Regions from separate parts of the Homo sapiens genome. Here all the other regions are linked to region 3. The links are contacts of gene promoters, found by promoter capture Hi-C in blood cells and fetal thymus (Javierre and others, 2016). All regions are on one chromosome and are shown on one strand. Each heading gives the region's core, a stretch centred on a gene start or on the middle of the fragment in contact. The rest is flanking DNA. Distances are from core to core; before and after follow the strand shown.

Region 1 (2,700 bases), core at 195-2,694, 530 kb before region 3:
CTTTCAGTTTTTGGGTACACGTGCACAACGTGCAGGTTTGTTACATATGTATACATGTGCCATGTTGGTGGGCTGCACCCATTAACTCATCATTTACATTAGGTATATCTCCTAATGCTATCCCTCCCCACTTCCCCCACCCCATGACAGGGCCCGGTGTGTGATGGTCCTCACCATGTGTCCAAGAGTTCTCATTGTTCAATGCCCACCTATGAGTGAGAACATGTGGTGTTTGGTTTTCTGTCCTTGTGATAGTTTGCTCAAAATGATGGTTTCCAGCTTCATCCATGTCCCTACAAAGGACGTGAACTCATTCTTTTTTATGGCTGCATAGTATTCCATGGTGTATATGTGCCACATTTTCTTAATCCAGTCTATCATTGTTGGACATTTGGGTTGGTTCCAAGTCTTTGCTATTGTGAACAGTGCTACAATAAACATACATGTGCATGTGTCTTTATAGCAGCATGATTTATAATCCTTTGGGTATATACCCAGTAATGGGATGGCTGGGTCAAATGATATTTCTAGTTCTAGATCCTTGAGGAATCACCACACTGTCTTCCACAATGGTTGAACTAGTTTACAGTTCCACCAACAGTGTAAAAGTGTTCCTATTTCTCCACATCCTCTCCAGCACCTGTTGTTTCCTGACTTTTTAATGATTGCCATTCTAACTGGTGTGAGATGGTATCCCATTGTGGTTTTGATTTGCATTTCTCTGATGGCCAGTGATGATGAGCATTTTTTCATGTGTGTGTTGGCTGCATAAATGTCTTCTTTTGAGAAGTGCCTGTTCATATCCTTTGCCTACTTTTTGATGGGGTTGTTTGATTTTTTCTTGTAAATCTGTTTAAGTTCTTTGTAGATTCTGTATATTAGCCTTTTGTCAGATGGGTAGATTGCAAAAATTTTCTCCCATTCTGTAGGTTGCCTGTTCACTCTGATGGTAGTTTCTTTTGCTGTGCAGAAGCTCTTTAGTTTAATTAGATCCCATTTCTCAATTTTGGCTTTTGTTGCCATTGCTTTTGGTGTTTTGGACATGAAGTACTGTTTCTTAATAAAGACAACCACGCCATCTCCCAGCCCCTGCTCTCCCCTCCTTTTTCCCTCACAGGAACCTGACCCCATAGCACCTAGGGACACGTGACTAGAAAGGCAATATGGAATGGAAGGGATGTGAATACTGTAGTCATTTCCAGTATTTTTTCTCCCTTCTTTCTCCCACTCTAAATTTTTAAAATGTGATCTTAAATTTCATAATATACAAACAGATTCTTATTACAGAAATTCAAATTATATAGAGGACATTATAGCCCCTTTCAACCTTCCCCATCCAACATTCCCCCCAAATAGGATTGTGCTGTACATTATTTTGAAATGTGCTTTCATGATGTAATGTCATGCTTTAGGAATTTTCCCACATGAGTAGTTAAGTTTACTTCATTCTTTTGAACTGCTGCAAAGCAGTCTTTTCTCTAGGATACCAATTGTTAAAAAATTATACACACAATTTCGCATACTACTTTTTACATTTCATAGTGTGTCATGAACATTTTCCCATCTCATTATACGTTCTTCATAAAACATGGTTTTTAATGATTACATAGTATTCCAGCATATAATTATACCAAAATCAATAATTAATTTAATAATTCTCCAACTTCTGCATTTTTAGATTGTCTCCATTTTTTTTTTTTTCTCGAGACAGGGTCTCACTTTATCGCTCAGGCTGGAATGCAATGGTGCAATCACAGCTCACTGCGGCCTCAATCTCCCTGGGCTCAGGTGATCCTCCCACCTTAGCCTCCCAAGTAGCTGGGACCATAGGCACACACCACCACACCTGGCTAATTTTTGTATTTTTTTTTAATAGAGTCGTGGTTTTGCCATATTGCTTGAACTCCTGGGCTCAAGCAATCCGCCTGCCTCGGCCTCCCAAAGTGTCTCCAGTTTTTGATAATCATTCCTTCTCAATAATGAGCTCAATGTCTCCTTACACTTGCCTTCCCACTACTCCCTTACTTAGGGATTGTAACCAACCAAAAAACTGAGGTCCCTGAAAAGTGGCTGATGGCGACAAGATTATTCTGTAGTTTCTGTGCTCCCTTCAGGCATGAATTGCTGTATTTATGACTGTGAATGGGTGTTGAATTTTAACTTCTTAAACTTCTGCTGAAACTCCACTCTCCTCACTTAAATAACTGAAGCAAAATGAAGGTATCTTTCCCAAACTGTTTACTTTGAGCAGGTGAGCATTTTCACAATTAGAAGGGAAGTTTGCAATCAGTTTCTTTAATGGGAAAGGTGCTCTTATAGAATTAATACATGCATGGCTCAGGGGAAGTAAGAATCTCTGCAATTGATTGGCTTAAAGGGGCTCCTTAAAATCAGAAATACTTGGGCACTCATCGCCTCTGCTGGGTGATTGACAGGGGTCTTCAAACCATCCTCCTTTGTGGGAGGTATTTGGCACAGAATCATGATTTCAGAGCCTTCTGGATTAGAATCAATTAAATCCATAAATAGAAATGAGCTGCCATTATTGTCCCTAAAAGGATACACCAATACCTCCACCCAGCATGTTCCTGTATCACGCCAGAGTTTACAAACAGGCCTGCTGCACCTGAAGGGACACAGCTAAATGCAATTCTGGGAATAATTGTTACAGGAAGGCATGTGCTGAGTTTTAAGTGAAAC
Region 2 (2,700 bases), core at 58-2,557, 870 kb before region 3:
GACTGGCTTATTTCATGTAGCATAATGTCCTCAACGTTTATTCATGTTAGCATGTGTCAGAATGTCCTTCCTTTTTAAGGCTAAATAATATTCCATTTGTATGGATATACTTTATTTTGTTTTTCCATTCATCTGTCGATGAACACGGGTTGCTTCTACCTCTTGCCTCTCATGAATAGCGCTGCTGTGAATGTGGGGGTACAAATATCTCTTCAAGTCTCTGCTTTCAGTTCTTTGGGGTATATGCCCAGAAGTGGATTTTCTGGATTATATGGTTAAAATTTGTCTTACACAGGCTAAAAATGAGATGTCTCACTTGGGCACATGGTATCAACTTGTATTTCTGCCTCCATTTGTAGCAATATTCTTTACTTTTATGTCTCAGTTTCTTCATTAAGTGAAGATAACATACCTTATTTCTCAGTAGTTTGAAAGGATTATGGGGACATTTTGCTGATGGACTGGGTAACCACTTCTTCTTATCCTCACAGGTAGTCCTGAAGAACTAAAAATAATAATAATCTGAGTCAGGGGAAAGAGGTTTTTGGTTTGTTTCGGTTTTGGCTTTTGGTTGTCCTGAGAAGACTGACTAGGATGAACACTCCTAGAAAAAGGAAGAAATCAACATGATTTGGCATGTTCTCAGCAACTGTACCAGCAGTGTTATGAAAAGGTCAAAATGATGATAAACCATCATATATTTCAGTTTGAAAATTAGAATTGATTCACACAACAAAAATAAACTGTGATGGGATGAGTCAGCTTCAGGCAGTGGACCTAGCTTTAGGGCATCTCATCTTGGGTCAGTGTTTGTTTGGCTTTTGAGGTAAGGCTCATTCTACTCAATAAAATGAGAGAAGATGGGACAAACTGTGAGAAAGGGAAAAATGTGAAATTTATCTTTGTTAAGGAGGCACATATGAATTCTGTGGCTTAGAAATGCTTTACAAATGTTCATGAGTTTTCTTGTGTATTGAATAGGACATTCGTAGTCACTTGTTTATGCTTACACTGGAGCCGGCCCTTGGAGCCCCACCCTTCAGGGAGAAGACTGTGGAACAGATGTCGCTCTCCACAGCCTGTGTGGATGAGGGAGAGAGGAGATCCTCTCACTATCTGTGATGTTTCCTCCCCCAGCATGGTTTACTAAGTGTTAGTCATCTCTCAAGGCCCAGCTGCCTCCTTCAGAAAGCCTTCCTTGATACCCTATGCCCTCCACCCGCAACCTGCCAACTCCTACCGCAAGCTGAAGGCAGTTTTCTTCCTCTGGACTCCCATAACAATTTCTCAAAGCCCACTGGGACAATCACTTTTGTCTGCTACTTGTCCACATGTCTTTCCTCCCCTATTAATGGCAGGCTATGGGTTTGTCCTTGCCCGACAGTATGCTGGGCTAGGGTCCCAGGTGTCGACAGGATTCAGGATATGACCTTGACAACTGGCCAGAGGCACCTGCATTTACCTCTGGTCACTCTTCAGTACAGAGGCCAACACGGGAGCATGGCTCTGTGATGTAAATGGAGAAGGATTAGAGCAGAATTTTTATATGTATGAATTTGGGATTTCAGAGGGAATTGGGTATCCTTTTCTTGGAGTGAATTAGGCCCAATCTGTTGCCTTTTATCTCCTCTAATAAATTTAGTGGTGATAATTTTATATTTAATATAAACATCTTTTACTATGTATTTTTTCAATTAATTAATTAAACTTGTTACAGGGAAATATGTTACTAGGAGGTTTCTTAGCCAGCTTTTTAAACAAAGGCTTCTTGCTAACTGGAAGGCCCAGTTAGGTGGTATAAGACTCATACCCTGTTCTTATTTCCAAGCCTTGGCGAAACCTTCCTGACCTGACTTTGCAGTGCTCTCTCAGGTTTGGTACTGTGTAAGCTACAAAGAGCCAAGTGGAACTGTCACTGGGTTACCTGGCATTTCCCCAGACTTTCACAAGGACCGATTTACCAGGGGCAGTTCATCTTGGTCTTACATATAGCAGCAGGGCAGGGACTCAGAGGGACAGAAGCAGCCCTCCAATAGTGTGAATACTTAGAATAGTTCATTTGTGTGCTCTGAAATAAACCCCTACATGTCTAAGACATGATACAAAACAAGCCTAGGGCCAGGTGCGGTGACTTATGCCTGTAATCCCAGCACTTTTGGGAGGCCAAGGCGGGCAGATCACATGAGGCCAGGAGCTCAAGACCAGCCTGGCCAACATGGTGAAAGGGTGTCTTTACTAAAAATACAAAAATTAGCCGGGTGTGGTGGAGCGTGCCTGTAATTCTAGCTAGTCGGGAGGCTGAGGCAGGAGAATCACTTGAACCCGGGAGGCAGAGAGCTGCAGTGAGTTGAGATTGCACCACTGCACTTCAGCCTGGGTGACAGAGTGAGACTCAGTCTTAAACACAGGGACAGTGACTAAAATCTATCTCCCTATGTAGGAAAATATAATAGAATTCTTTCTTCAGCAAATCATAGAGTCTCACAATTGGGAAGACTATAGAGTTCACTTGGTGGACTTGACTGATGTGTGACTCTCTCTGGCATGTAGTAGTAATTCCGCCTTTGCTCAGATTTGCGTTTCTGACTCATTGCCTTCTAAGGCAGAAGCAGCTCTCTACTGGAACCATACCTTCCCCAGTCCCAAAAGATGGGGGTGGACTAGGGGAGGGGCTCAAATCTAAATTTACCCTCCTACTAA
Region 3 (2,721 bases), core at 126-2,625:
AAAAGGGGCTCATCATAGTTGTGAGGAGAATTAAGTGAACTAATATTTGTGCCTGGTATGCAGTAACCACTATGTATGTTTTTGAAATAAATAAATGTTGTTGGAGTGAAACCCCCCAACACATCTCTAATGCCGCCTTGTGACTAGTGGATTAAGTGAGCACTTTGAAAATATGTATTACTTGAGTGATTAAATTGCCAAGCTTCCCCATTTCATTTACATCTTATTTCCATTTCTAGTGAATCATTCCTTCTAAGCACAAGGTTGTGAAAGGAAATCTTGAACACTAATAATAGCATTACAAGCTACTATAACCAGGGCTTACTTACATGATTATCACCAAAGCTCCAATAAATTTCTCAATTTAAATATTAAAAATCAGTCAATGATCTGTTAGCTGGAAAATATCTGGGGTGAAAGAGTGATTACCACTAAAAAATAGATTGAAGTCATTGCTGCTTTTAGAGCCTAGAAAAATACAAAGATCTGTTATTCTAGGTAAGTTACTTACTCTCTCTGCCTCCTTTATGGGCTGCTGGAAGGATTAAATGATTAGTGTGTGAGAAATGCTTAGAACAATGCCTGGCTCAAAGTAAGTAATCAATAAATGCCAGTTCTTATTATCACAGGTATTCTGAATACAGGTTGTGGCGATCAGGAGCTTTGATGACCATGGCAGGTGGCAATGCCCCAAAGTGCAGAAGACGTCAATTCCTCTTCCATATCCCCAGTCAACACACACATTCCCCTCCACAACCAAGAGAAGTGGGCATTAAAGAAAGGAAGGGCAAGAGGAACGACAATTCTAAAAGATCACCAAGGTGTATAGTCTGAATTATTTGGACTAGTTCTGCTGTGATCTTAGCCAATTGACCCTCTGCCCTAATTTCCCCACCTGAAAAAAAAGAAGGCCAATTTATTAAGGGTTTCTGATGCGTGGGTGAAAGAGGCTGTTAACACTCGAAAGTATTATAGATTAACAATCTTTCTAACCATTTTAAATATTAGCAAATGTTCCAGCTCACAAAGTGCCATGGTTTTAGTGGCCTGGAAAACGCTGCAATTTGTTCAAACATCAGTGGGTGTTATTTCTGGATGTTAATCAGTACCATTTACCTTGAGAACCTGGAAAATGTGTGGACTGTGCAAGTCCGCCATCTGCTGGTCCTGGAGACTCTGCGCCGCAGGGCAGAGATGCTTGTCCAATGCGGCCGGCACAGGAGCTCCTTGGAGAGCAGCAAACCAGCCAAAGCTGTTCCCACCACCTCAGGTCCTGATGCTGAATTATCACAGTGAACATGTTGCTTTCCCAAAGGGAGGTGATTTGTTTGAGAGGGTATGTGTGTGGTCTTTAAATAGTTTTGTTCTTTGTGCTTACATTATCATCTAGGAAGAAAAGATAATTTATTGCATCTCAGAAATGAAGCGACTCTGAGATAGCATCTATTTCAAATGCCTCATTTTACACAAAAGAAAAAATGTGGCCCAAGAGTCAGACAACTTTCCCAAGTTACTCAGCCAGTAGTGGCAGGACAGTATCCCCAAGGCTCATGCCTGGACACTTACTCTCGCTACCTTGGAGAAGGTGAAGGAGGGCAGAGGAATCTGCCAAAACAAAGAAAACTTCCCAGCCAGTGTCCTGGGTCACTGTATACGTCTTACTGACATGGCACTTTAGCCATAGTTTGCAAAGAGCTTTAACTTCTCTTCTTATATCCATATAAAAACTTTCACCTCTGATTGTAGCCAAAAGCCAAAGCCCTTTTATGCCCTATTGCACTTATGAAAGGGGAAAAATGCAAGTAAGGATACTTTATCTTGTGATTATTTTCACTTCCTGAAAAGCCAAAGATCTAGCAGTTTAATCACAAAGTCTGTCCTGTCATTCAGCAGCAGATGCCAGCCTCTTGCCCGGCAGCCACCAGAATAGAAGAACCCTACAGGTCAGAAAGTCTACACTCTTATTTCTCCACCAGAGAGAGGTCTCTCTTAGTTTATACAGGCCAACTATTTTTTTTTAATTGGTCTTAGTCCAATAATGACATATTTGCCTGGGTCACCTGCCAGCCAACCAGGAGCGCTCATTCAGCTGGGGTGTGGATACAGAGAAATTCTAGTGCCATCCAACAGAGGGCAGTAGTGCACAGACACATAACCACCCTGCTCAGCTCTCTCCTATCAGAAAAAAGGGGGTGGGGGACACAGGTGCATATTCTTACTGCTCTGACTCTGTCCTGAGAGTGGAGCCAAACATTTTTCAGATGCCAAAATCAATCTTAAAAGTCAATGATCTGACAAGGACAAATATTAATCGCTAATTCCTGTTTCCCCCCACTTCATGACGCTCAGCTTCATACTCTGCCCCTGAGCCTCCCAAACCAAAGTTCTTTTATCACGTGACAGAGACACAAGCCTTGGATCCATCTGAAAACAAAGCTGACAAGTTTCTCACCACCTAGCAACACAAAAAACTCTAAACACAATCCAAAGAATCCCCAAGGGAAACAGCTTCAAGAATCTTGAAAATCATACCTATTTTTGTTTGTAATGTGTGAAATTATTACAAGTATGTTCACCAAGAGGACTATTGATGGATGACTCACAATTTAGCTAAATTCAATGAACCACACACTGTGCCTATCCCAGTAGGTGACTCATGCATTTTTTATTTCAAGTATCAAGTGTTTGCCAAAAACAGTATTTAAAAAAAGTAATGAAAAT

Evidence for each region. The method cuts DNA at HindIII sites, captures the fragments that hold promoters and counts their contacts. A CHiCAGO score of 5 or more calls a contact.
Region 1: a contact is called between a fragment that was not itself captured here and the fragment with the promoter of LINC00609 in region 3, in 5 of 17 cell types (endothelial precursors, M2 macrophages, M0 macrophages and 2 more). The highest score is 9.9, in endothelial precursors.
Region 2: a fragment that was not itself captured here is called in contact with the fragment with the promoter of LINC00609 in region 3 in 1 of 17 cell types (M2 macrophages); the score reaches 7.4 in M2 macrophages.

Annotation. Positions count from the first base shown.
Region 1 is chr14:36,601,579-36,604,278 of GRCh38, reverse strand. No RefSeq gene overlaps it. Among named protein-coding and RNA genes, the nearest start is that of NKX2-8, 20 kb to the right of the region's middle. The HindIII fragment of the contact is 3,992 bases long and covers 1-2,700 here.
Region 2 is chr14:36,942,909-36,945,608 of GRCh38, reverse strand. The region is part of intron 1 of SLC25A21 (solute carrier family 25 member 21); the gene reads left to right. Among named protein-coding and RNA genes, the nearest start is that of MIR4503, 8.1 kb to the left of the region's middle. The HindIII fragment of the contact is 3,902 bases long and covers 1-2,700 here.
Region 3 is chr14:36,069,081-36,071,801 of GRCh38, reverse strand. It overlaps LINC00609 (long intergenic non-protein coding RNA 609), which reads right to left and starts at 1,375. Exons shown (of 3, transcript NR_073454.1): 1 at 1,117-1,375. The HindIII fragment of the contact is 3,305 bases long and covers 205-2,721 here.